Linked DNA regions of Homo sapiens: all the other regions are linked to region 5. Evidence: promoter capture Hi-C in 16 types of primary human blood cells and fetal thymus (Javierre and others, 2016). All regions are on one chromosome and are shown on one strand. The core of a region is centred on a gene start or on the middle of the fragment in contact, and the rest is flanking DNA. Distances in the headings are between cores, read along the strand shown. Region 1 holds the start of HMX2 (H6 family homeobox 2). Region 2 overlaps PTPRE (protein tyrosine phosphatase receptor type E). Region 3 has its middle 9.6 kb from the start of MKI67. Region 4 overlaps PTPRE (protein tyrosine phosphatase receptor type E). Region 5 holds the start of FANK1 (fibronectin type III and ankyrin repeat domains 1). Region 6 overlaps MKI67 (marker of proliferation Ki-67).

Region 1 (4,902 bases), core at 1,190-3,689, 2.8 Mb before region 5:
TGGCGGAAGAGAGGAAAGAGCCACGAGAACAACTAGGCGGGATGTACTTTTGAGCCCTGCCGGGTGTCTCCGATCGGAGTCTGGGGTTGAGATTTGGGCTGCACTTGTCCCCGGTGTGTCTCTCCGGCGGAGTACCCTGAAGGTGCACGAGGTGGGGAGCATAGGCTGAGGTGGGTAATCGGGTCCTGGATAGAAACACAACCCTCGTCCTCACTGGGGCCCATGTATGCGCCTGGGATTCCTCCCCACCCTTCCATTTCCAGGACCCCTAAGGGTATCACTCCAGCGACGGGGCGGTTCTGGAGACCCGAGGGAAGGGATAGCTGGAGACTGCAGCGCGCCTTCTCCGAGAGTCCCCTGGAGGTGCGCATGAGTTGTACTAGCGCAGATCTCTTCCTTGGCTGCTGCTCCTGGCGATGCATCTCCGGGGGAAACTTCCCAAAGTCTGAGTTGCCGGGGTTCCAAAAGGATCCCTTTGGGTTTAGGCCTGGGAGAGGTATAGAGCCAGCGAGAGAGCGCGTTGCGCCTATCACTGAGGCAGGAGCGGTGAGGTGGAGTCACCTGCTGTGCCTCACCCAAGCGCTAATGTCTTAAAGAAATATAAAGAATCCCCTTCTTTCGTGAGCTCCTTCACCGCCCTCGCCCCCGTTGGTGATGGAGTGCACGCATCAGATTTTCATCAAAGTTCTATTAAGTGAAACATAGGTTGCAGGGCACCCTTTGATTGAAACAGTTTAAATTTTAATTGTGTTTTTAATTTGACATATAGTTGCAGAAAGGAATGACACTGCGTCGCCAAGGGGCGGTCGATTTTCTTAATTTCTCCCAGAGGAATTGATGAGTCTATCAGGCCACTAGATTGGAAACCCATTAAAGCTCTCTGGTTAGGCTGTTAATTGGAACTTGATGGATGTGGGGGGGTGGGGAGGGGGGTGGAGAGTGTCGGGACTCGGCTATGCTGATCCAATCTTCATGACTTTCTGTTTTCCAATAAATTACACAATTCATTTTCCAGCAGCAGATTACATAAATTGTACACCTCTGGGGCTCTCTTTTTCAAATAGGGAGCCCTTTTCCCCAAAAGCCTATTGTGAGATGTCATTTGCACCAAAGAACGAACAGCAGAGGCCCTTGAACGAAAATCGAAACATAATCAACGTTTATACTTAGAAAATTTATTGAGATCATTTTCTCTGGTATTTCCTTATTTTAAAGTTTGGACGCGCCATATATCATAATCCACTCGCGTGGGGGCGGGGGGGCAGACTGTGTTTAATATTTATCGAAGCTTGATTCCAAGATCAAACTTGTTTATGACTTCATCTGTCATTTCGGAGGGAGCCTTCTTCTATTACCCGGCTCAGCCAGCCTATTTCCCAACTGCCGCAGAGCAGAGAGGATCAATTTTTATTAGGATCCTCGGCAAGTTTGCTCTGGGCCGCTTTAATATTGAGCAGTGGCATAATCTCGGGACCTAAACTTTAAGCGTTCTTTCAGGCTCAGAAAGTTTATCATTCCTTGGAACCTGGTTATGCCTAATTCCTAGGAGAGGGAGACAGGGGGTCGATCCCAAAGATGCAGAGGGGCCATCCTCCAAGGTGTGGGTATTAAACTGAGTAGGATTGGGCGGAGCTATCCCAAGGCTAGGGAGGTGGGCGGGGTGTGGGATAGTACTGAGTTGAAGGATTGCCACTCGTTAGGGGAGAGACATGAGGTGTCTGTGGGTGGTGGTTCCAGGAACTGAGTGTTCCTGGGAGTGAGTTTTGTAGCTACACTGGGCCCAGGAGAGGGCGTCTGGGCCTCCGTGCTCCCGGTGAAGATCCCCATATGCTAGAAAGGGGCGGCAAGGAAGGTTGTTTCTTGTCCCTCCCGTCCTTGCGGTGTGACGGCTATAGGTGCTGGAGGGGCGGGAGGTCCCTCGGGCTATCAATCGAGGGGAGCTCAGGGGAACTGCAGTCAGTCAGGCTGCAGAGCTGGGTCTCCACCACAGCCTTCCTTGCCCCAGCCCCGTGCCCACCACCATCTCTTCCCTGGTAAAGTGCACGCACTAGTAGGAGCTCAGTGAACGTTTGCTGAATGAATGTGTGAGTGTGCGCAGGCGTTTATGCAAGTGCCTTCATGCGAATTAATGCGTCCTTTGCCGGGTGTGGCAGCAGAGGAAGTGCCTCGGTGAAGATCAGACCCTCGAAGCGATTAGAGGGACGGGACAGAGGAAATACAAGGCAAGATGGATCTTTTTGACTTCCCAAACTATCCCTAGGGGAAGGAGAGATAGGGACGCAAGGCTTCATAACTTCCTTGTTTAGAGTCCGCAAGCCAGGCTTCTTGCAAGGGTCGACTCCCCAGTCTCTCACTGTTTCAGGGCCTGGGAGTTGCTTTTCCGAGGCCCACTTCGAGGTCCCCTGATCTGACAGAGATCACTCCTTGGGCTCTTGCCCCACCCATATACCCGCCCCCGCCATCCCGAGTCAGCAGGATCCTCACAGTCTTCCCCGCAGCCATCCTCCAAGCTCAATGCCTGTGTCTGCTCCTCTCTCCCTCCTCCCAAATGTGATGTATTGGCAGTGGAACAACCTTGAGCACGAGTCTTGCTTTGTCTGCCTGGGCTAGTCTCTTGTTTTCTTGAGCCTCAGTTTCCCGGCCTGTACATTGAGTGAATAGATCTGTGTCACTTGTTTGCCATCAGGATTAAAGCGAAGAATGCTGGGGAGCTTCCAGCATGTTCCCCGCACGACATATTTACAGTTCAGGAAGGTTCGACCAACTTTCCCTGCCTGCCCCCAGCTTTCTTCCCCAGCGGGGTGGCTGGCACTGCTCCCCGAGTTAGCTGGCCAGTTCCCCTCGGGGCTGCCTTGACCCTGGCTCCGGAGGCAGCGCCTAGCTCAGGATGTCTGCGAGAAGCGGATGGTTAGTGAGAATCCGACGATTCTTTCGCTGAACCTCCCGCGTACCCCCCAACAGCGCGGGAGCACGCGGGACCCGCTGCGACGTGGCCCAGGAGCCTGCGCCGCCGCGGCGCAGAGGAGAACGCACAAATTGTATTTCAGCGCCAGGTCCTTCCGGGTTAATGAGCTGACACCATGATTAAAGCTGACCATTTGTAATGTGTCTCGACCCTGCCGCTGAGCCCTGAAGAGGTTAATGCGGTGACGGAGGCCGGCACCTGCCCCTCGCTGGCCTCCCGGGCCGCTGCGCGCACCCCCTGGCCCCCGCCCCCTCGCCTGCCCCTGCCCCGGCTGCGCGGCCGACTCCTAATCAATTAGCCCATTAACGAGCCCCTCGAGGAGTTAAGTAGGGAAGAGTTCTGCCACGGGCAGGGCCGCAGTCGGTAACTCACCGCGGCTAATGATATTATAAGCGCTTTACTTAATAACCCGGGCGCGGTGCAGGCGAGGAAGGAACTGCACAGTCATGCAGTGTCTGGACATTTGTGGGGACTGATTCCAGAGTCTCCACTCACCCTTGGCTGCACTTGGGGGGCACCCTAAAGACAGGGCTTCTGGAATCTCTTGGCCAAGAGGTCTAGAGGTCACAGCTTGAGGGGACGGGGTTGCCTGAGCACTTCGGGCCTTGCCTCACTTCAGTTTCCAGGAAGCTTGTGCAGACGACTGTGGCCCCAAACCGCTTTGCTTGGCTGGGCTAATTCTAGCTCGGGTAACAGCTGATCTAGGAATTAAAGGGGCGAGAGCCAGGGCACAGAAGGGGGCTATGAGAACACAGAGGGAATCACTATTTACTGAGCACCACGGTGTGCCAGGCTCGGTGCTGGGTAGTTTGACCTCACAACAGCCTCTGCGAGGGAGGCACTGCTTCCTCCAATTTTAGGAATAAAGAAACCGAGCCTCAGAATTTCCAAATGTCTTCCCCCAAGATCACCCAGCCGAGAATTGAGTCGAGTCTGCTCAATTCTAAAACCGAGTCCTGTCACCAGTTCCTTATCTTCTTCCTGGGAGTAAGGCGTCTATTTCTGCAGCAGTTCGGAAACCTTCAAAATTTACAAAACAAAAACACAGATTCGCTTAAAACACGGGTGGGCCATGGGCTACCCGGCCAGGTTTATGGAGTACCTACTATGCGCTGCTAGTGCTTCGAGGCTTTTAATCCCTACCTGAGGCAATCCGAGAAGTTATTTTCAACTATGAGGGCAGAGAGGCTTTAATCGGCATGAGTTGTGCAAGTTCATGCAGTGTGTAAATAGTTGTGCCGGAATTTGAACCCAGATCTCTTGACTAGAGGTCTTAGGGCTTCCTCCCTCCCCCTAAAGATTCTGTAGGTCCGTAGAACCTGTGACAGGGATGAGGTCTGCAGACGGGGAAGGGGAATGTCTGCTCCCAAGGCTCCTGGCCATGCTGGAGAGGATGAGCGTCCGCCTGGAGACGCCTGCTCCTAACCCACCTCACCCCCACGCAGGGCGCCACGGTCCCAGGAGTGCCGGCTTTGCCCGCCCACTGGGGCTAGAAGGGGTGGAGGGCTGGGGGAGGATGGTGGAGCAGCCTGTACAAGCCCCTGGGAGGCGCGGAGACCCGTCGCCTGCGGAGGCGTCGAGCCACTCCAGCTCCGAGTCCCGCACCGCCCCTGCCTCTGGAGAGAAGGGTCCAAGGGGTCCAAGGAGTCGGAGTTGCCGCAGCCGCCAGGAACCCGGGCTAGAATCTGCAGCTGCTTTCAGCCCTGGCTGCCCCTGGTTAGACGCCGCTGATGCCCGCCAGGCCCTCGGCGCGCTCTGGGGGCGCACCGGTGCTGTGTGCCTGGCCGGAGCGTTTTGAAATTTTCCGGGGCCGCTCGGCGGCGCTGCGATTGGCCGCGTTCGGGTAACCTCTATGCAAATGAGGCCGCGCCGCCTCCGCGCCGCCGGAGACCCGGCGAGTTGGCGGGCGAGGAAGGGGCATTTGCACCGGGGCTGGG
Region 2 (4,784 bases), core at 1,650-4,149, 2.1 Mb after region 5:
TAGGATTTTTCATGCTCATTCAGATGTCTTCTCTAATTACAAGCATTAGTGTTTAACATGTGAGCAGCCGGGGAATGGATGTTTCTTGGCCTCAGTTCTGAAATGGGTCCATTTGCATCCCTGAGGGAGGCCTCAGGCAGGAGGGCTGCTGGTGGGGACAGGCTGACCTTGGACGGGGTTCAGGGGGTGGGGAGTGGGGGGGCCACACCTCCACTGCATGTCTGCATTGTCAACAGCAAATCCCATTCAGCAGGTGCCACTGCCCACCTGCACCTGCCAGTGAGCCTCTAGTGAGGGGTTTCCACAGCACCAAGCAGTCACTGCCACATTTAGCGATGCTCTGATGTTTTGGCAAAATGGAGTGCCAGGTGAAGATCTGAGGTGATGGCCCACAGGTCCTCAGCATGAAAGAGCCTTTTTCTGTGCTGAGCCACTTTACAATCTGGGTCTGCCCCTGGGCATTCCCACCCCCTACCCCCAATAAATACCTGCATCCCAGGGTACTCAATTGGCTCTGTCAAGATGAGTGGACCGTGGCTCCATCCTCGCAGAGGCAGCTTACCTCCACTTCACCTGAGAGTTTAGACATGGCCATGGTCAGATGCAAGGGTCAAGCTGGAGCCAGGCAGAGCATGCTGGAGCCAGACCAAGCATGTAGGAGCTAGACCGAGTGTGCTGGAGTCAGACTGAGTGTGCTGGAGCAGCGAAGAACAGAGAACTTGGCTGCAGCTGGGTGATGAGGCTGCATGAACTAGGCCCTGAAAGGATCGAGGTTTCCCAGGCAGAGTGAAGGGGGATGAAGAAACCGATTGAAAAGCAGTGTCTTGCTGGGTGTGAAGAGGACAGCGTGGCCAGAGAACAGGGCTTGAATGGGAGGGGTAGAGTTAGCAGGGCGAGTGGAGGGTGGATGGTAGAGGGTCCAGGATGCCAGGCTAGGTCACCCAGATGTGATTTCTGCTAAGTGGTTCCAGGGAGGGCAGGGGTCTGGGATGAGATCACCCTGGGTTCCAGTCCCTGATCTGCCCCCACTAACCATCAACCAAGCAGGTCCTTTGAGTCCTGGTTCCCTCCTTTGAGTGAATGTCCACAGTCAGTGACTGTATCCCCCTGGTGTTGAGAAGCCTCAGTGAGATGATCCGTGAAAGTGACAGGCAAAGTTCTTGGCTCAGAGAAAGCCCTGAAATGAAGTTGGCTCTTCTCCTCATCATCACTGCCTGGCACCGGAGGGTCCCACAGCTGCTGCTGGATGACCTCTGAGCCTGTCCCTGCCTCTCTGCAGGTCCACCATGGAGCCCTTGTGTCCACTCCTGCTGGTGGGTTTTAGCTTGCCGCTCGCCAGGGCTCTCAGGGGCAACGAGACCACTGCCGACAGCAACGAGACAACCACGACCTCAGGTAAGGACCCCTTTCCCTGGCTGCCTCCCCTACTACCTCCTCCTAAGCTCCTGGGACCATTCAGAGGGTGATAAAGGGGCTTAGGGTAAGAGAAGAATGGTGTGGCTGAATTTCTTAGTGTGCTTTTAATAGTTTGTGCCTCTAAAAACAGGCAGGCTAAATAAGCTAGTTTAGCATTTGGTTGTTCAGCAAAGCTTAGTGTTCTGGAGGTGACCCATCTACAACCCCAGCTGAGAGTCAGGGTCAGCCTTGGCTGGAGGCAGGAGTGCAAAAGGGTTAAAAATCCCCCAAAATCCCCTTGTGCAGAAAACCAACCATGAACATACATGGATGAGGCGATGTGACAGTTAATGATAGGAACTAAAGAATTATTCTTAGGCCGGGTGCGGTGGCTCATACCTGTAATCCCAGCACTTTGGGAGGCCGAGGTGGGCAGATCACGAGGTCAAGAGATTGAGACCATCTTGGCCAACACGGTGAAACCCTGTCTCTACTAAAAGTACAAAAATTAGCTGGGCGTGGTGGTGGGCGCCTGTAGTCCCAGCCACTCGGGAGGCTGAGGCAGGAGAATCACTTCAACCTGGGAGGCGGAGGTTGCAGTGAGCTGAGATTGTGCCACTGCACTCTTGCCTGGCAACAGACAGAGACTACGTCTCAAAAAAAAAAAAAAAAAAAAAAAAAGAATTATTCTTAATATTTTAGGTCAGATATTGGCGTCATGGTTAGTTTTATTTTTAAAAAGAAGAGTCCTTGCCTTTTGACATGCCTGCTGAAGGGTTCACGAGTGAACTGTGATGTCTGGGCTTTATGCAGAAAAGAGCAAGAGGGAAGTGGGGGTGGGGGCTTGTGAACAAAGTCACATCAAGAGCCCCACATGATTCCCTAACCCTGGACAAATGTCCTGCAAACCCTGGACAAATGTCCTGCAAATGTACCACTGGCCCCAGGAGGAGGAAAGAGTAAAGATTTCTGGTGACAGAACCTCTAGCAAGGAGAGCAGTTCTGAGCGCCCACCTGTCTTTTTCCTCTTCATGTTGAAACCTCAGAGAAATCCAAAACCCCAAAAATGAGAGACCAGAAGCTGCCCGCAAATATTAACTTGCCTCTTTGCAAGCCAGCCTTTCAGGGGCAGGTCACTGGTGGTTCAAAGAGTTATTTCAACCCACAATCCCGACTTTTCTTCCCAACGCTAATCGACTGGCCACGTAGAAACATCTGACAAACTGCCCGGATGTACCCTCACATCCAGGAGCCACAATGGCAGAACATCCGTTTGCGCAACAGTGGGGAAGAATCTGCCCGAGCTCTGCAGACAGTCCCTCGGGTGGCACTGTGGGCACCGGCAGGATGACGTCCACTCCACATCTGAGGCTTTTCAGTTTATTTGAAAACAAAATTATTGGGCTCACATATTGCCATAGACATGGGGTGTTACTTGCAGGAGGAGGACACTGTCATGTGACCTCAGCACCCAGAGCAGAACTAAATGTGAAACTCACACCTTGGTCCAGCCTCTGCCAGGGCCTCTGCGTGCTTAGCAAGGCTGCTGGTCCACGAGCAAGAGGGAAATGGGCCTCGGGTTATAAGGCGCAGACGGGCTCGTTTGACCTAGAATTGTGGAGGGGAACCTGACCCTGTGAAGTGCCCTTTAAATCTTCATCTGACCCCTGGAAGAAGTATGAAGGACCATTTCAGATGATAACACGTTTCCACAGTGTGCCAAAATAATAGGAAGCTGTTTCATTTGTTCATCGAACAAAATATATTCAGTACTCATGCAGACAAATTCTTTTACAGAAGGAATTGAAGGTAAATGTTTACAAATTATGTAATAAAATGTTATCTATAAAAAATAATACGTAAAAGAACACAGTCGAAAAATGAGTAGAGAATATGACCAGGTAGAATACAAATATCTAATTATGTTTCACTAATCATGAAAAGATGCTCAACTCTCTAGAAATTAGAGAAATGCAAGTTAAAATGACATTATCATTTTACCTATCAGATGGACCAAAATGCAAAGGGTTGGCAAAATATCCCAGAGAAGAGAAACTGGCTCCATCGCACATTATGGGCAGCATTCCGCAACCTTTGTGGCACCAGGGACTGGTTTAATGGAAGACAGTTTTTCCGTGGAATTGGGGTGGGGGGTGGTTTGGGGATGATTCAAGTGCATTATATTTATTTTGTACTTTATTTCTATTATGATTACATTGTAACATATAATGAAATAATTATACAACTCACCATCATGTAGAATCAGTGGGAGCCCTGAGCTTGTGTTCCTGCAACTAGACGGCCCCTCTGGGGGTGATGGGAGACAGTGACAGATCACCAGGCATCAGGTTCTCTTAAGGAGCACGCAACCTAGATCCCTGGCATGCGCAGTTCACAATAGGGCTCACGGTCCTGTAAGAATCTAATGCCGCTGCTGATCTGACGGGGGGCGGCGCTCAGGCGATAATGCCTGCTCACCTGCCACTCACCTCCTGCTGTGTGGCCCAGTTCCTAACAGGCCACAGACTGATATCCATCTGTGTCCTGGGGGAGTTAGAGACCTCCGCTGTGGATGAATGTAGAAGTTGGACACTTGGGGCTGCCATCTTGGCAATTGTGTTAAAATGTAACAGGCGTACAGGCTAACACAGAAGCTGTCCTACAGAAACACTTGCGAGACACAAAGATATATATGTGTGTGTGTGTGTGTTGCAGAATTGTAGGTAATAGCAGAAAAGTTGGAAACAACTTAAATGTCCATCCTATTTTGGTCTATCCAAAAAGTGGAATCCAAGCAGCTATTAAACAGAATGAGGAAGCTTATCTGGGCTGACATGGAAACTCTCCAAGACAGACAGCCGTACCAGAAAAGCAAGCTGGAGAACTGCCCCGTGGTGCATTTCATCTGTTTCTTTCATATTTAATGTGGCTATATGGGGACGTGTCTTAAAATTGGTAGCACTTCACAATTATAATCAGTATCATTTTTTTTCTTTCTTAGTGGTTCTTAAAATAACGATACTTTTTACAGTCCGTGAAGCTGTAGATGAAACGAGAGGAGTAGTATGGTCTATTTATTTCCCAAACCTGCATATTTATGAACGTAAATTTATAGAAGAAAATGTCAGGAAAGATACGCTTTGAAATCTTAATTATGTTTAACTCTGGCAAAGAGAACAGGTTCCTGAACATTGAAAATTTTAGGCCGGAGTGAGTTGGGACCTTAAACCATTGTCTGCACACCTGTCCTTGAGTGAGCCACATCTTTTCAGTATGGACTTGCTCCGCCTCTAGGGCCCCTGGGGAAGGAGGGCTTGGAATGAAGGTGGGAGAGGAAAAGAGGGATGGAGATAAGATAGGGGACACAGTGAGAGCAGCTGTGCCCTGGG
Region 3 (4,584 bases), core at 646-3,145, 2.2 Mb after region 5:
CAGCAGTTTAATCTCAAAGCTTCCCAAAGCTTCTCAATAACTAACTAACTAACTAACTAACTAAATAAATAAATAAATAAAAAAGTCTCCCAAAGCATCGCAGTACAAACAACCGCTCGATTTATACAACCCAGGAAGATCAAACCCTGGGTGCCTGGCATGGTTCTAATCCAGTACAACCATCACCACGTCAATTCCCACTTTTACTGAGATGGAGATTCAAGTGGCAACATTTCCTCGACTATTAATGGTTTAAGAAAAGCATCTTACAGTGTGTTGTTTCCAGAAACAGCTATGCCCCCTGGAAGGAAAGTACGTCTTAACAACACAAAATAGTGGTCAAAACCAATTACTTAACACTGGGACAATCTATTATTATAAAGTCAGTAAGACAGGCAGGTATAATAGCAACAGCTTTCCTCACCATAAGGCAGCTGCCCGGTTTCTACATATCTTCTGCTTTCCAGAGTAAAGATGTGCATTTGACATTTCCATACCTATTATATGCAGGACACGCGATCCCGAGAAACTGTCAGAGCGTTTTTCTTGTACCCCAGACCAGCCTTCTGTTCCTTGGATATTAAAACCCCAGGAAGTTGCCTGGCTTATTTATACCACTATCCCTCTCACAGCAGACAGACAGATGTAGCACACAGCAACACAGTCACAAATAGTAAAAATAACAAATAGTAAAAATAACAAAGGGTTATGATTTGTGAGACAAAGGCTATGTTTTCAAATGAACGATATTCATTGTAAAAATTTTGTTGAAAACAAAGTACTCGTACCTTCTAAATAGAAATAATAAATAAATAAAACTAATATAGATTTGAATCTAATTGACATATATAGATTGAAGACTGCAACCAACAGTTGTAGAACACACATTCTTTTCAAACACATAATACACAGATTAGTAAACATTGCAGCCATATCTGATCACAAAGCAAATGCCAACACATTTCAACAACTAGAAGCTATTGAAATGTCCATCCAGAACGATAAAATTGTGTATAATTATGTGTATTATTTATTTTTCTTCCTTTCTTTTTTTTCAGAGACAAGGTCTTGCTCTGTTGCCAAGGTTGGAGTGCATTGGCACAATCATAGACCACTGCAACCTCAAACTCCCGGGCTCAAGTGATCCTCCCACCTCAGCCTCTGAGTGGCTGGGACCACAAATACACACCATCATGACTGGCTAATTTTTAAATTTTTTGAAGAGATGGAGTCTCACTGTGTTGCCCAGGCTGGTCTTGAGCCCTGGGCCTCAAGTGATCCTCCTATCCTTGGCCTTCCAAAGTGTTGGGATGACAGGCATATGCCACTGCACCAGGCAGGTATATTATTTCAATCAAATAGTTAATGTAAACAAATGACAACTACAATCAATATTTTATGATTCTCATAAGGACTAGAGACATCGGACATAATTACATACTTTATTATTTAATTTTTGTGAAGTTTAGTAATGTCAGACAAAATATAGTGTTCAAAGATGCATGTTTAAAAATAAAACTCAGGCTGGGCACAGTGGCTCACATCTGTAATCCCAGCAGTTTGGGAGGCTGAGGCAGGAGGATCACTTGAGGTCAGGAGTTTGAGACCAGCCTGGCCAACATGGTGAAACCCCGTCTCTACTAAAAATACAAAAATTAGCCAGCTGTGGTGGCGGGCATCTGTAGTCCCAGCTACTGGGAAGGCTGATGTTCTGTGCAGGAAATGCATGAGGGGAGAAGAAATGGCACACACACAATACTTTAAAGGGTAAACAAGCTTTACCCCATGTAAATGGCAATGCAGATATAATAAGGAAATGACATAATAAGCAAATGATATAATAAGAAAATCAATATAATAAGGATATTGTTACAATAAGCAAATTGCAATGGGAAGAGAAGGGAAAAAGATACTTACACTCACCAGACTATGGAGGATTCACCACCAAACTGGGAAGCAACATCTTGGGATCCAGAGTCGACCACTTGTCCATGCAGACAAGGAGGGGTCTCATGAAGCTTCTGCGTGGTCTGAGACCCTAGCTCTTTTTGTAACGAGTTGTTTGGCATGAGGTCCAGTTACGAGGGCCCTTCGTGACGGGGCTCAAGGAACACAAAAAGGTCAACTTGTTTTTGCAATTATCTATTGTTTTTCAATAACTAACGTATAGGAATAGATTGAAATAGGGATTTCTTTGAAACAGTGCTGGATGAACGCCTTAAGGGGCTCACACAACCTGTTCCGAGACTTGGTGACCATTGTTTCTGTCCACAACCAAATGAGTTCACATTTAATATTTAACTATTCCTCCACAAGGCTGAGGCAGGAGAACTGCTTGAACCCAGGAGGAAGAAGTTTCAGTGAGCCAAGATCGTGCCACTGCACTCCAGCCTGGGTGACAGAGTGAGACTCAAATAATAATAATAATAATTTAAAAATATTTAAGGTCTGGCATGGTGGCTCACGCCTGTAATCCCAACACTTTGGGAGGCCAAGGTGGGTGTATCACGAGGTTAGGAGATCGAGACCATCCTGGCTAACATGGTGAAAACCCGTCTCTACTAAAAATACAAAAATTAGCCGGGCATGGTGGCGTGCGCCTGTAGTCCCAGCTACTCGGGAGGCTGAGGCAGGAGAACGGCGTGAATCCGGGAGGCGGAGCTTGCAGTGAGCGGAGATTGCACCACTGTACTCCAGCCTGGGTGACAGAGCGAGACTCCATCTCAAAAAATAAATAAATAAATTTAAAAATAAAAATAAAACTCAAAGTATTTTTATAATGTTATAAAAGCCACAGTGACAGACTCTGTGATGAGAGAAAGAAGTCGCGGTTAGAAGACAGGATGGAAGAAGCCTCTGGAAGAAATGTTCTATTTCATGACTTGGTTTAGTTACGTGAGTGTTTGCTTCCTGATAATTGAAACTATAAGACTCATGCAGAGTTTTACATTCAGCCTTCTCCACAAAGTAAGTTCTTTTAGGACCAGATCACCTCTTTGGCCTGGTTATCTGTACTCAAATCCTTGAATTTGATATTTAAGTCCAATTTCTCATTTTTTGAATGGATCCAAATTATACCACAGTGGCATAAAATTTTTTGAGCTGAAAACATTTTAGAATCAAGAAATGCAGACAGAAGCTTTGTCTGAATTATGCCCTATCCTCACCCCATTATCAGACTACGAAGTTTACAGATAAGCCCCTATCTTCAGCTATTGGCTGCTTTCTTTGTGCTCTTCTGAGAATGGATATTAACAAACAAAATGAATACACTTTGTCTTTTCTCTTGTTAATCTCTTGTTAATCTGGTTTTTGTCATTTATTTTATTTTTTGAGTCAGGGTCTCACTCTGTCACCCAGAGTGGAGTGCAGTGGTGAGATTTCAGCTCACTGCAACCTTAACCTTCTGGGCCCAAGCTCAGCATCCTAAGTAACTGGGACTATAGGTGCACGCCATCATGCTGGGCTAATTTTTGCTTTTTTTTTTTTTTTTTTTTCCAGAGACAGGGATTCACCATATGGCCCAGGCTGGTCTCCATCTTCCAGGCTCAAGCAATCCACCCACCTCCTTCTCCCAAAGTGCTAGGATTACAGGTGTGAGCCACAGTGCTAGGCCAGTTTTTTTTTTTTTTTTTTTTTTTTTGAGACGGAGTCTCGCTGTCGCCCAGGCTGGAGTGCAGTGGCGCGATCTCGGCTCACTGCAGGCTCCGCCCCCTGGGGTTCACGCCATTCTCCTGCCTCAGCCTCCCGAGTAGCTGGGACTACAGGCGCCCGCCACCGCGCCCGGCTAATTTTTTGTATTTTTAGTAGAGATGGGGTTTCACCATTTTAGCCGGGATGGTCTCGATCTCCTGACCTCGTGATCCGCCCGCCTCGGCCTCCCAAAGTGCTGGGATTACAGGCGTGAGCCACCGCGCCCGGCCAGGCCAGTTTTTTGTCATTTTAATTTACAAGACTCCAAACACTGATTCTAAGAGGCTAGAGGAAAAATTATTTCTTTTTGACAAATTCTAGGTCTATATGCTATTCCATTTGGAAAATGTATTGAGAATTACAATCTGAAATCTGTTAACATTCATCAACATTAAAGATGGATCACTGTTGAACTGTTTCAGTGGTTTATGATAAATCACAATATGACATTAATTGTTTGCAAAATTAGCTTTTACCTACCTGAAAGATCGATCAACAGTAGTTATTATATTTCCATGTTTTAGCTGTACAAGCTCATTAATATCAAACCCAATTAACTATGTTGGATTTGTGGAGTGGAAATGAAATAATATGGCCTACAAGTAGAAAGAAGAGAACAACTGGTAACTAATCAATAGGTAGAAAGTGAAAGGAAAAGCTTTAAAAATGGGCTTTCAAAAGCCCTGCTCTTTCATCTGCACTTTGCAACGTTGATGTATCACTACAGGAAGCTGGCTGCAGATGTCACATTCCACTCCCCTTATTCCAAAAGAATGGAGATTTTTGTCTGGTTATTGCACCTTCTAAACCAAATACATGAATTTTTCTTTTTCTTTCTTTTTTTTTTTTTTTCAAGATGGAGTTTCACTCTTATTGCCCAGGCTGGAGTGC
Region 4 (4,502 bases), core at 1,631-4,130, 2.2 Mb after region 5:
CTCAGACATGGCTAGATGCTGCACACTTTGGAGAGGATTTGTTGCCAATGGGTAGAAGATATCACAGAAAGAGGGGAGGCAACTTACATGGCTTGAGCAGCTCAAAGGAAAGGAAGGCCATGGCAGGAGGAGGTCTGAGATCTTTGGAATAATGTGTGTCAAATTTGGGATATTTAGAAATTAGTTTCACTGCTTAATTTATTACCTTAATTGAGTGGTTTTAAGTTGTGCCTTGATTTGCCAACCATATGTGTTAAGAAACCGCTCAGTGCTAAGCACATTCCTGAATTCCTCATTTCTCTCAATCACTAAACCTTCATCCCTTAAAGGTAACATCACATTGTTAATTAAGACTATTTAGCTGGGACCTCTGTGGAAGCAGAATCATGGCCAAGTGTGGGCATTACCTACACCCAGTCCCCTTCTCAAAGTGTGATGGCCCAGGGCAGAGCAGTGGCCTCACCTGGGAGTCCCCCACCTGGAAGAGGCCGGGCCCACCCACTGCAAGTCTTCTCTGAGCCACGTTCTCAAGTCTTCTCTGAGCCGCGTTCTCCAGGTTGTGCTGCTGGAGTCAGTTGGCATTTCCTCCAAGCCTGAAAGTGTAGTCAGATTCAGAATGGGCTTTTCTAGATTCCCCTGTAAGATCTTTCCCCTGCTCCTGGCAGGAGCACCACACCATGGGAACCCCAGGGCCCACGCAGCTGCCCGGGACTGGGGGACCAGGACGTGGCACTTCTCACATGGGTGGAAAGATGGGTTTACAGAATGGTGGCATGGAGACGCTGTGGCCTGGCAAGGATCAATGGGGTGGCATCTGGCATTAGCCATCAGGAAGACTTAAGGCTGAAGGGACATTGGGCAGGGAGCTCTCAGGGCTGCTCCACCCGCCCCCAGGGTGACAGCCCATAGTATCACTTAGGGTGGGACTGAGAGTCACCTGGGGGAGAGGAGAGAAGGGGCCCAACTTCCCCAGCCCCTAGTATCACTTAGGGTGGGACTGAGAGTCACCTGGGGGAGAGGAGAGAAGGGACCCAACTTCCCCAGCCCCTGGCACCTTCCCTGCCTTTCCCAGTCTTTTACCAGAGTCATAAGATGGTCCTTGGCTCTGGGCAGGCATGTGGCCCTGGGGAGCTCTGGGGTCAGAGGTCAAGGTGCTTTGCATGTCAGGCAGGCTTGACTTTTGCCTGTAGAAAGACTATAGAAAGATGGCAAGCTAGGCCTCTTTTCTGGAAAAGTGCCAACAGCTGATAATTTTAGGAAATAATGTTTTGAATGTGAAGTGTGACTTTTTAGAATAAAAAGACAGGAAGCTCTTAGAAACTGCAAGATTCTAAATCTAAGCAGAAGGCTATATTTTACCCTGTGCTTTTCTATAGCTGTCCTCAAAGCGTAAACCATTCCAAATTATTTTCAACTAGTGTTATATGTGTTCAGCAGAGCTATTTCTGCCTGGGCATTGCCAGTCCCTGAGCAGGAGGGTCTCACAGTGAGGTCTGCAGGACTGTAAGTTTGGGGTCTGACTCCCTGGCCACCCTGTGTGGGCTGTGACTGTCTCTCAGAGCTATACCCGCCCTTTCTCTGCTGGCAGCCCGACAGAGCTGGCTCAACCATCGGAGGTCGCAGGCCACCAGCCCGTGGCCCACCTGGCAGCCTTCCAGGTGAAGGTGAGACAAACAAGGCATGACCTGGGGGCTGCCCGGCTCCCCATCACAAACGCCACAAACACCACAAACACAACCCACCCTGATCAGAGACTAAGCAGAGAAAGCAGGGAGAGGACCTAGAGTTACTCAGTAATGACTCAGGAAGGAGACCCTAAGCTTCTACCACATGCCAGACTCTGTGCCCAGTGCAGCATAAACGTCCTCAGAACCAGCCTGGTCCCAGCCTGGCCGAGCCGGACGTTCCTGGGAAAGGTTACAGGAGGAGCAGGGCCAGGCCCACAGCACTTTTAGAAGCCCATGAAAATGTCTTCATTTCTCTTCAAATCACAAACAAAACGTGCAAAACCCATTCTGGAGTGCATCTTTTCACTGGCGACCAACCCAGTCCTAAGATAACCTTCTTAATAGTTCTATGGAGGAAGCTGCAAAGGCAGAAGTGACTACAACCCACAAAAGTCATGATGGAGCCCTGACGTGTGTGTACACACACACTACATGCACACACACACACACAACACACACACTACACACCCACCGCACATAACGCACACACATACACACTCCACACACACACCACACACTCCACACAAACATATCACACACATACCACACACATACACACCACACACATACCACACACTACACACACACACACACACACACTACACATACACACCAAACCCACATGCACACATTCACACAGCATACACACTACACACATGCACACCACACATACACCACACACACTACACACATGCACCATACACACCACACACACACCACACATTACACACATACACAACCACACACACCACACACACAATACACACACACCACACTCACTACACACACACCCCACACACAGAGCACTCCACGGTCAGCCTTCTACCCCGGAAAACTGCTTGTGCAACAGGCTGGATCTACCAGACGCTCCTCACTGTGCTCGCCTTCCAGCTCTGGGGCAGACTCCGGTGGTGGGACTGAGGGTCAGAGTCCCCAATCCTAGACCCCCACATCCACTTGTCCTCATGGGGCTGGTGCTCATTTCCCTGGGAAGCCTGGGAGAGTGGACCCAGTTCTCCTGTCCTGGGGCTCTTTTAAGTGCACCCACACTTGGCAACACTGGGGCTGGGCCCAGTGCAGGGTTCATAAAATACAGCCCTTGCACTGCCAGGGGCCTGGCACATTCTGCTATTCTTGCTATGTAATGACCCAGCAGCCCCCATCCTGGATGCTGAAATCCTACCCTTGTCGTCATGCCACAGCTGAGACAGTCAGTGTTCACCAAAGCAGGTGCATTCTCTCTCAGGACACTAGTGTTCTCCATGGGAACGCTGAGGAAGAACATCTCTGCCATCCCTGGTGTCGCTGTGAAGCTGCTTTTGCCCTTCCCAGGAGCTGACACTGCAGATGAAGAGACAGCACTGTGATTTCTGGAAGAGACAGCACTGTGATTCCTGGTCCTAATATCTTGGCTTTGTTTGGGTTTTTTTTCCAGATGACCATTCTAGGGTGATTCTGAGCCAACTGGATGGAATTCCCTGTTCAGACTACATCAATGCTTCCTACATAGATGTAAGTGGGCAGAGGTTTCTTGTTCCCCTGGCCCAGCTGGGGCATGAGCAGTAAGCACTTTCTTGTCTGGTGCCCGGAGTGTAAATTGTCACAACCTTTCTGGGCAGTTTGGCCACAAGCACAAAGGGTACGGAACTGCCCGTGCTTTACACACTGGCATCAGCATCTGGGAATTTGAATTCAAGAGACAGAGATGATCACAGAGGATGTTCACTACAGCATTATGTATATTCCTGACCAAATAGAACAGGGAGCATGGGTAGTTAAACAGATTGTGGTAAAACCATGTGCAGTGGACTATTAGAACTTGATTTGTATTAATCTTTAAAAGATCATTTAATATCAATTATAAAATTCCCATTAAAAATACAACATAAAATAAATTGTACATGTTCACCCAATTAGAGGACAGAAATGTCTGCATGTCTGCTTGTGGGTGAGTCTGGGAAAGGTTTGGCAGAAAAACAGACTAGAGAGGGGACGTATGAAGTAGGATTTGTTATTTCTGGAATTGCTGGTGAGTTTTCTTTCCTTCTTAACCTTTTCCTGTGTTTTGCAAATTTTCCATGGTGAATATGTACTGCTTTCCTAACAGCAACACCAACAAATCCTTTCAGCAAAGATAATTCTGAAAAAATATAAATCTGATGTTATTTTTTCTAGGGTTACAAAGAGAAGAATAAATTCATAGCAGCTCAAGGTAAGCTTTTTATTAATTTCTCAACGTATTTTTGGTAACGTGAATAGCTCTTATTTCCTTCTCTGTATGCCAACAAGACCAAGGACTTATACTGGATTTGTGTGTGTGTGTTTACACCTAACAGACACGTTAGATATCCATTCACACAACGGATATGTGTAGTCAGAGAAACACACACTTATTCCCACACCTATATGGTGTGAACACAGGGCACGCAATGGCCCCGGCTGCCATTCCAGCTTGTTAATACTTGCGTCAGATAACCTTGAATTTCTCTCAGCTGGCTGAGCCCTACATGGCTCCCCAAGTTTGGGCGAGGGGTTAGTGGGGTGAATAGCTTTTCAGATCAAGGCCATAACTAAGAATATACTTCAGCTGTGAAAACGTGCCCTTCACCTTGCACAGGGCTACCTTGTGTGTTGAGTACTGAATCCAGCATCACTCCGTTCCACCAGAGGTTGTCATCTGCAGGACCTGGTGTACGTGCGGTTAGATATCAGTGGAGCTGAAACCAGATTCCTCAGACTTCCTCACTCTTAGGCCAGGAGTCTTTAGGGCAATGA
Region 5 (4,584 bases), core at 1,358-3,857:
GAAAAAGACTACATCTGTCTCTTCATTGTTACTTTGTTATTCCCGATCCATAATGCTTCAGTTTGCTACATTTAGTTAAACATCAGCAAAGTAAACAATAATGTAACTATTCTATCTAGTAATGAGCTTGGAGACTTAAAAAAATATATATAGAACTTTATTCCTTTTCATTTGACCACTAATAACATACTGAACATGCCCGTGAAAAGAAATAAAACACAATGGTAGAAAACTCCAAAAAGGTAGAGTGTCTTTACCATTCATCCCCCACCCCTATCTCATTAGCAACTTTCTGATCTCGGGTGTTTTCTCCAATAGTAAAGTGTATCCCTATATCCAAAACAATTTCTCTAAAGCCCTTCTCACTCATTCAACAAACATTTAACAGGTACATTGCACAAGGTGATAGAGGAAGAGAAACTGAATATTGTCCCTGCCTCGGACATTTCAGTGCCTTTACGCCTGACTTCCACTCCTAACCAGTCTTCTTTCACAGGTACCCTGTCCCCTAAAATCAAATGTTGCTTTTCACAGTTGCCTTTACTTGTCACCTAAAGTATTTCAATTCAAAATTTCCTCAAAGTCAACTTAACAGCTGCTGATAAAATAATCATTCTATATGATTACAAAGTGTTTCACCAATACATATCCCCATTTTTTCCAAACTTAAAACTTCTTCAGTCCTTATTACTTTAGCATAGAGACCTGCACTGTTGTTTCTTCTTTTTAAAAAAATACTAATGCTAATCCTTTACTGTTTGAGCAGACTTAATCCTACCTTTTCTTTTGTCAATAAATGCCAGGTGTTTTTTAAATCACTATCTTGTCACTTTTGATTATGATATACTGATCACTCTATTTGTATCTTGAATGAAAAGACCGCTTTGTGATTTTGCTAATGATATGTAAACTAGAACTTGAGAACCACTGGATACAGGAGTACTGCTGATCTTTATACTTTCTGTCTAAAAATGAAGCCCCTGTCTCTAAATTTCAGGAACAGGGAGTTAAGGTTCCATGAAGTGTTTACTTTCCACCCTTAATTTATTACCTTAATACTTCAGCTTAAGAATTATGTGTTCTGTATATATCACGCTGCTTGTCAATATCCACACATAAACCTTCTTGTTTTGACAATTAATCTGAAAAAGTCCCCATATAGTCTGAGAGGGGGAAAACCTAATTTGGAAGAATATAATAAATGTCAGTTTCCATCACAGAATATATGCTTCTCAAGTTCAATTAACCTCTCAATGATTCCCTAAGAGGAAAGTAATTCTCCTTAGTGTCCTTGTCATCCATGGAGTGGAAATCTTTCTACTGGCAAGATTAGTAATCACTTCCATGACCCCCAAAACGGCTCTTCCTTCCATTTCCCTCAAGTACTGTCTGGAGCAGCGGTTGGAATTAATAGAGGGGCCATAATCTCCAGACCTGAATACCAAATCAATCCTGCAGCCCCCCACACCCTTAATGCCCCTGCACTTTCTTGCTTATCCTTTTTCTCTCGTCTCCATTTTTCTTTCCTCCTTCTGGTGTTCCGGAACCTATGATACTCTCCTGGTTGTTTGAATTTTTACAACCTACCAGATAATAATCTCTTGTGATCCTCAAAGCTTCCTTAAAGCAAACCCTGAATCACTGTGTTTTAAAACCAGTATGAAAGACTATTGTGTGGGATAATGTTACATTGTTTCACAGCCCTACAAAGTTTGGCCACAAAACGTGTGGGCAGATTCCGTAACTCAACCGGAAACGCGAAGGACTGAAACAAATCAACACACAAAAAACGAAGCCAGCGAGAAAGATCCAACCCGGGCCCCCTGCCTGAAATGGGACACGGGGATGACGGGGCAAAGCCGGGCAAAACCGTGCTCCTGGCTCTCGCGATTCAGGAGACGCGCCAGGCTCACTGGGGACGACAGCGACGACGGCGGCGGCTCGCATTGCTCCACGCTTCCCGTCAGGGGGGCTCGAGGGACCGCCCCAGGCCCGGCCCATGCCCGGGCTCGGAGGGAGCCCCTGGTGCGAGGGCTGCCCGCAGGGCTCCGTCCTCCCGCTGAGGCGCGGCTCCCGGAGCAGGAGGCGCGGAGGCCGCCCTCGGCGTTTCGGAGTCGGGGCGGGGAACGTCCACGGCCAACTGCGGGCAGGGGACCCCCAGGCGGCTACAACAGGTGCGCCGGGGCCGCCCACCCGGCTCGGGGCGCGCCCGCCCCTGCGCCGACCCCCGACCCCTTCCGCCGCCGGGGCCCCGCTGTTACCTGCAGCGGCGGCTCCCGATTCCCGGGAGGGCGGCCCAGGGCCGGCGCCTTACCCGCGGGCAGGCCCACTCGCCCGACGGACGCCGCGGGTCGGCGACAGCGGGGACCGCGGGTCGGCGACGTCGGGGCACAGGTCCTGCGGGGCCGCGGGGGCCGCCAGGGAGGGCGCGACCGCCTGACCGGGCTTCAGGAGCAGTGTCCTCAGCCGGTGACCTGGCCGCTACCCTCGCTCAGTGTCCCCGGCGACGCGCGGGTCCTCACGCGCTCCCTCACTTCCTGCGGCTTTTGGTCCCTCCCGCTCGCCGTCCCTTTAGTTCTGCCCACTTCGCCTCCGGGTTGTCAGGGCAACCGTAGCGACGCCGGCCCTGGCTGAGAGGCGTTAGGAGTCCGGGGGTTCGCCCGCGGAGGCCGGGGAGCAGCCGACCATGGAGCCCCAGAGTAAGGGAGGCCCGGGCTGGAGCTGGGACCGGGGCGGGCGACCGGGCTGGGGCTCCCCGGGAACGAGTGTGGGCGCCCCGCGCGCGACTCCGCAGGTTTCAACGCTCGGACACGGAAATACGGTTTGCGTCTCCTCGCGCTTTTCTCTCCTGGAGAGGGGAGAAGGGGGCTACATCCTGCCAAGTCTGTATGGTTGGGCCGCCGGCGCCCTAGAGTCCGCGCTGGGGGCTGGGAGCGACTGGAGAGCCCCGAGGTATGGGTGGGGAAGGGCGCAGCGACCCCAGCGTGCGTCTTCCTGAAACTTCGCCCGGACGGTTCCATTTACTCCTCCTCCTACTCATGATTTTAGTTTGGTAGTTTGGTTCATTAATTGTAAGTAGCCCATTTTTCTTCTAAAATGTCAGCAATTAAACACGTCCGAGGCTGGGTCTTGTATTTATTAGAGACCCCGTCTTACTCCCCGCCCCCCGCCCCACACCCCTAGTCTGCGACTTGAAGGAGAGAGAGAGAAAAGAAGAGCTTTGTCCAAGTGTATTTGATTCATTCTTAGGGGTTCTACAAGTTAGGACACTCAAAAAATGTTTGTAATCTCTTTTTCTGTTTTCCCATGTTGCTTTCGATGTATGGCAAAAGTTGTGCAGTTTTGAGTTATCAGATCTAAACACGAGCTCTAACTTACTATTTTTGTTGTTGTTTTTACCTTTCCAGGGACTTTGTTTCAAGGCCTTTCTTTCTCTGCCCCGCCTAAGCTGTCTTATTGTTCCTTTTGTTCTCAAAATAAGGGGAGTGTTTTGTATGGAGACTTAAAATTTATCTAAAACCTTTATAGAAGGATGCAGTTTGACTCTCAAACCAAGTCGTCTTATCTTGTACAATTTCAGAAATGAAGAACTCAGACCAAATCTATTCTCTGGGGAAAATGTTGGCATTTTTAAAGGTCATTCGTTTTCCACCAAGAAAGTTTCAAATACTTTTCCTTTTAACTCATTTGCTGAGGAGAAAGCTTGCAAGTTGTGACTTATAGTTGCTTGATAGATTTTGTACAGTATTTGTCATTTGCATTTACAGCTCTTTGGATTCTACATTTTTTTAACCTAGTAAAAGAAATTTAGCATACAAGAACGCTAAAATTTTTGTTTTATGTCAAACTGATGGCAGGCTGTGTATATTCCCGCCTTAGAGAAGTGAGTTGAAATATACCTTTTAAAAACAGCAACTTGGCCTGGCCCGGTGGCTCACGCCTGTAATCCCAGCACTTTGGGAGGCTGAGGCAGGCGGATCACGAGGTCAGGAGATTGAGACCATCTTGGCCAGCATAGTGAAACCCATCTCTACTAAAATACAAAAAAAAAAAAAAAAAAAAAAAAAAAAAAAAAAAAGCCAGGTGTGGTGGCGCGTGCCTGGAGTCCTAGCTATTTGGGACGCTGAGGCCGAGGCAGGGGAATCGCTTGAACCCGGGAGGCGGAGGTTGCAGTGAGGCCAGATTGCACCGCTGCACTCCAGCCTGGTGACAGAGCGAGACTCCATCTCGAAAAAACAAAAAAAAGAACTTTATTTCTTCAGATTTATGTTACTGTTTTCATGTGTAAACTATAATTTCAAGTTCTTCAGTGCTGTCTTTATCCATTCATTCATTTATAGTGCCTGTTATGTTGCAGCTCTGTTCTAGGGATTGAGGATTGAACAACGGATCGGACAGTGTTAGTTTTGGTCATCCCAGGAAAACTAAGCAGAGGCTTGCTCAAGAACTCCTGAGGTCTTGGTGGGGTTCGGAGATTGGGGGAAGAGGAGATGGACAAAGGCTCCCAAGAGGAAGTAGTACTGGGTCTGCAGAATGACCCAGCAAAGAATGAGGGCAAGGGATTCCAGGCAGTGGGAATTACTT
Region 6 (4,508 bases), core at 1,916-4,415, 2.2 Mb after region 5:
TTACCAGAGACTTTCTTTTGGTTGGGGCTTCTCCCCTTTTGAGAGGCGTATTAGGAGGCAAGTTTTCATCAAATAGTTCAGGTCTTAGGTGCCCACCAAAGGACACACGCCTTCTTTTCAAAGGTATTCCCTCACTCTCATCTAAAGTAACGGATACAAATGTGGAAAGAGCAATGAAAAAACATACCAAGACTAGTGATTTATTTCACGTTAGCATTAAAGACAAACCAAGTGAAAAGTCATCGAAACACAGTACCTACAGCACGCCTCTATTCTTGCAATCCTGGTGAAGCTAAGCTACTAAGAGTTCCTAAAGGATTGCGGGAGTGGCCACTAAGACGTCAAGTTGCCACTGGACAGTACAGAGGCTTTCTTTAAAACATTGAAACATTATGTGTGGACATAGAAAGGAGGAGTCTGCAGCAGCAGATTTCACCTTAGAGTAGGGGGACGACAGCCAGAGAACTCTCTAAAGACATGCACTTGGGTCTCAGCCTGAGCCACCCAGTGACCAGAATGCATGAGCTGTAAAAACTCCTCCAGGTGGTTCTGAGTCAATTCACAGGAGCCCAGTCCCGGCCACACATTTTCCTGAGCCACCAGTTAATGTAAATCCCTTGCCTAAGTGATGCTTCCCCACTAGGAAGCTTGGTGGAATACTGAGACTGATGTTACAAACCTTATTTTATCGACAGCCTCATGCCCCACCGCTATAGGCCACCTGCAGAAACACAGCCTGGAGTACGAATACTGCGTCTGTGGCCCAGACAACTTTTCTTCTAATAGCCAGTCCCTAGGAGTGTAGGAAGCTCCCGAGGAGCTACCACACCTGCTATAAAGGTCCTACCTCTGCCACTTCCTGACTGGCCTTGGGTTGTGCGTTTCCTCATGTGTGACATAGCTCTAAAAAGACAACCTAGCCACGGGCACTGCTATTGCACCAAGGATCAAGTGTTCATGTGGCATATGGACTCATGGGTACAGTCCAGTGTTTACAGCAAATTGTTTGTAGGACACTCTGAAAACAGAGTATCAACACCTGAGAACTACCGCTATGTTTAATGATTACCAGTGATTTATTCCACATGACCAAACTCATATGATACAGTTGATTGTAGTTCAGAATTAAACTCCATGTGAAAAGCAATTATGATTATTCTCTTTTCTATTTTGTGATAGATGGAGGAGAATCAAATATTTTTGGGGCCACCCTATCTCCTTCAATAACCCCTGCTTCATGATTGCCTGACAACTTCCATCTCTTCTGTCATTCCTTGTTACAATTACCTAGGCCTTCAGTATTCATCTATTAGCGAAAACAGCGTGCGTGTCTGTCTTATCCCTGTGCCTTATGTGCTTACATTCTCTTCCACAAAGCTAATCACTACTGAAAGAATGAAGGTCTCACAGCTACATAGAAGGTGTTCATCTTTTAGAAAAATAAATTTACAATTAAATAAACTTACTAATGGAATCACCAAAGTTGTTGATATCAACTGAACTAAGACCAGGTAACCCAGAGCACATCTGTCCAGCTGTAGTGCCCAATTTCTCAGGCTTGCTGAGGGAATCCTTTTGGATCTTCCTCTCAACTTGAGTGAGCCACAGAGTTAAAAATGGCTCATTGTGAATTTCAGTTTCCGTAGGCAGAACTTCCACATCTGTAGGAATACTTCCTCTGGTTTTGGAAGAGAGATTTTCTGGCTTAGTGGCAGAGTCAGCTGCATCTTCAACTTTAGCTGGTGTTCGATTTCTAGTTGAAAGCTTCCTGGGAGTAAGAGTTTTATCACCAGCCTTGAAGCCTTCACTTTTACCCAGATTCACAGATTCTCTTCTACCAGTAGTATACAGGTCTTTGTTCTTATGTTTTTGTGGAGAATTTTGTTGCTGTGAATATTGTACAGGGGTCTTCATTTTAGCCGGCTCATAGAGAGGAAAGCTGGCGCCCACAGCCTTGCTGGGAGTCTGAACAGACTCCACGTCTCTTCCCTTCCCCTTGTTCTGGTCAAGCTCTTGTTCAGGTGAAGCAGGCTCTGCCACAGCGTGGCCGCTCCCACCAGATTTTGGTCTTGACTTACGCGAGACCAACAGTTGGGTCTCCCCCTGTAAACCATCAGCACTTTCTTTCTCTGTTGCGTAATCAGTTTGTAATCCAGATTTTCTACAATACTGTAGGACATTTTCTTTTTGTGATTTTACATCCAACTCTTTCTTCACTGACTCATAAAGCTTCCAAAAGGGAGATTCATTTTTTTTGCTATTGTCAAGACATTGTGTAGTGGGAACAGACTTCAATTCTCCATAACGGCTCACTAATTTAACGCTGGAAATTTCTTTAAAATCCCCAGAAATGGGATCAGCTGCATTTCTGCCATTACGTCCAGCATGTTCTGAGGAATGAACATTAGTTGTTCCCTGAGCAACACTGTCTTTTGAGTCATCTGCGGTACTGTCTTCTTTGACATTCTTGATATGTACCTGAGGATTTCCTGAAACTTTTCCTTCAGTGATTTTTGAATAGGCCTTGGAATCTTGAGCTTTCTCATCTTGGCAATGAATTATGAAATAAGAAACAGAAGTTCAGCATTTTCTCAATGATTAACATTTGTGGAATTCAATATTTTAATTGTTTCAGGTTGTCTTATAAGCTAGCTTTTACTTGGCCTACAAATTATTTAATGCCTAAAACTTGCAAGTCTTATGATACTAGTATTATGATACAAATATATAAATCATATCAGCTCCAATAACCAGTATGAAATAGCACATGCTATCTAACTACTGAGAACTGAGTTGACAGCTGAACAGGCAATTTTCTCATATCTAGAGTCTCTCCTAAGCATAGCATACCATCAGTCACCAAGGGAAAGTTAGGCATCTGTCTGTCGTTGACATGTTAAATGACACCTCCTCCATTTCTGACAGGCTAGACATTTAGCACTTGCATTCTTGTTGCCCCTTCTTTGCCAATATGCTTCGCAAAGACCTGATCTTTCAGGATTCTGGAACAAAACCCAACCACTACTCACCAGGGTCAGAAGAGAAGCTAGATCTTGAGACACGACGTGCTGGCTCCTGTAAGTTGGGAAAATAAGAACAGTTATTTGCAGGTCTTTCTAAATGATGACAGTCACAACAGTGAAAATATTATTTATTGTTTTCTGGCTGGGCATGATGGCTCATGCCTGTAATCCCAGCACTTTGGGAGGCCAAGGTGGGCGGATCACTTGAGGTCAGGAGTTTGAGAACAGCCTGGCCAACATGATGTAACCTCATCTCTACTGCAAATACAAACATTAGCTGGATGTGGTGGCAGGTGCCTGTAGTCCCAGCTACTCAGGTGGCCGAGGCAGGAGAATTGCTGGAACCCGGGAGGCAGAGGTTGCAGTGAGCAGAGATTGCACCACTGCACTCTAGCCTGGGCAATAAAGCGAGACTCTGTCTCAAAAAATAAAAATAAAAACAATAAAAAATTGTTTTCTTTACCAAACCACTCGTATATGACTTTTAAAGACTGTTTGAGAAATGAGCTCAAGTCAGTTGGGAGCTAGTGGTCAGGATAAAAGTACTTATTAGCTGACTCATTAAAAAATAGTGAGTGATTAATAGGAAACAAATTCGAGGCTTAAAATTACTAAAATCAAACCTCGGTGTGTTTTTATAACTTCCTTTAAAGATATTTCCCAACATCCTATTGCGGAAGAACCAAAGTCAATATTAAACATCACCTATACTGAAGATCTGTAACCCCCCACGAGCTCAGAACTACTGACTGCGTCATCAGTTTTCTCATAAATGGGCCATAGGACCTGTCGATGAACTGAGGCTCCACTTGGCATGTGCGCCCTCTTGGCTGGTGGATACTTAGGGTGGATCTGAGAGCCTAGATTCACCCTAGGTAAATTCATGGTACAGGCACACATGGTATATTCACAGATTCTGCAACCTCACAGCCTGGGAGCAGGCGCAGCGCCCCCACCTGGCTCCCCAGAGACAGCGCCCTAACTTTCCTTCATATGGAATTATTTCCGGAAGGGTGGAAGAACTAAAGAATAACATATATATATAACTTTTATAAAAGTCTGATGCCCCAAAGGAAGAAAAGCTTATCATCTGGATTATTAAGAAAATATCTAAAAAATATTAACAAAGGCAAAGAATCTAACTTCCTTAATCAATTTTAGGTTTCTTGATACGTAACACCTTGCTTCTAAAACTATCTATGTGAGGGATGGTTTTTTATTTCCAATCTGAAGTGGAACAAGAATCTTATGACTAAACAATATAAATGAACCACTAATAAAATTATGAATATGTAAAGTATATAATCTCACTTTTGTTGTACGATTACATTCAATAGCCACAAAATTGCTGTCGAATTGCTGTCATATTTACTACATACTCCATTTCAGTACTCACTATATCACAGACCAGTAACAGAACAAACAGTTCCTAGACTGCTGAGTGGCACATATCTAACCCACAGTTCAACTGGCTTTTTGGTTTAT

Evidence for each region. The method cuts DNA at HindIII sites, captures the fragments that hold promoters and counts their contacts. A CHiCAGO score of 5 or more calls a contact.
Region 1: a contact is called between a fragment that was not itself captured here and the fragment with the promoter of FANK1 in region 5, in 1 of 17 cell types (monocytes). The highest score is 5.9, in monocytes.
Region 2: a contact is called between a fragment that was not itself captured here and the fragment with the promoter of FANK1 in region 5, in 1 of 17 cell types (naive CD8 T cells). The highest score is 8.6, in naive CD8 T cells.
Region 3: a contact is called between a fragment that was not itself captured here and the fragment with the promoter of FANK1 in region 5, in 2 of 17 cell types (naive CD8 T cells and activated CD4 T cells). The highest score is 9.0, in naive CD8 T cells.
Region 4: a fragment that was not itself captured here is called in contact with the fragment with the promoter of FANK1 in region 5 in 4 of 17 cell types (naive CD8 T cells, total CD4 T cells, non-activated CD4 T cells and 1 more); the score reaches 10.8 in naive CD8 T cells.
Region 6: a contact is called between a fragment that was not itself captured here and the fragment with the promoter of FANK1 in region 5, in 1 of 17 cell types (naive CD8 T cells). The highest score is 6.0, in naive CD8 T cells.

The regions. Positions count from the first base shown.
Region 1 is chr10:123,143,254-123,148,155 of GRCh38, forward strand. HMX2 (H6 family homeobox 2) reads left to right here and starts at 4,883. Exons shown (of 2, transcript NM_005519.2): 1 at 4,883-4,902. RefSeq lists an enhancer at 1-474 and a silencer at 4,753-4,902. The HindIII fragment of the contact is 2,307 bases long and covers 1,287-3,593 here.
Region 2 is chr10:128,039,596-128,044,379 of GRCh38, forward strand. It overlaps PTPRE (protein tyrosine phosphatase receptor type E), which reads left to right. Exons shown (of 21, transcript NM_006504.6): 3 at 1,280-1,395. The coding sequence starts at 1,287. Among named protein-coding and RNA genes, the nearest start is that of AS-PTPRE, 20 kb to the right of the region's middle. The HindIII fragment of the contact is 2,625 bases long and covers 1,588-4,212 here.
Region 3 is chr10:128,133,691-128,138,274 of GRCh38, forward strand. No RefSeq gene overlaps it. Among named protein-coding and RNA genes, the nearest start is that of MKI67, 9.6 kb to the left of the region's middle. The HindIII fragment of the contact is 242 bases long and covers 1,775-2,016 here.
Region 4 is chr10:128,057,777-128,062,278 of GRCh38, forward strand. PTPRE (protein tyrosine phosphatase receptor type E) reads left to right here. Exons shown (of 21, transcript NM_006504.6): 8 at 3,163-3,239; 9 at 3,903-3,939. It overlaps AS-PTPRE (lncRNA antisense to PTPRE protein-coding gene), which reads right to left. Exons shown (of 3, transcript NR_136150.1): 1 at 4,351-4,502; 2 at 2,911-3,068; 3 at 1-593. Among named protein-coding and RNA genes, the nearest start is that of AS-PTPRE, 2.4 kb to the right of the region's middle. RefSeq lists an enhancer at 4,192-4,502. The HindIII fragment of the contact is 2,124 bases long and covers 1,819-3,942 here.
Region 5 is chr10:125,893,957-125,898,540 of GRCh38, forward strand. FANK1 (fibronectin type III and ankyrin repeat domains 1) reads left to right here and starts at 2,608. Exons shown (of 11, transcript NM_145235.5): 1 at 2,608-2,699. The coding sequence starts at 2,687. It also overlaps a transcript of DHX32 not described here. RefSeq lists silencers at 2,113-2,192, 2,413-2,492, 2,653-2,792, 2,884-3,178. The HindIII fragment of the contact is 2,086 bases long and covers 1,615-3,700 here.
Region 6 is chr10:128,113,462-128,117,969 of GRCh38, forward strand. It overlaps MKI67 (marker of proliferation Ki-67), which reads right to left. Exons shown (of 15, transcript NM_002417.5): 6 at 3,030-3,075; 7 at 1,467-2,546; 8 at 1-141. Among named protein-coding and RNA genes, the nearest start is that of MKI67, 11 kb to the right of the region's middle. The HindIII fragment of the contact is 1,876 bases long and covers 2,228-4,103 here.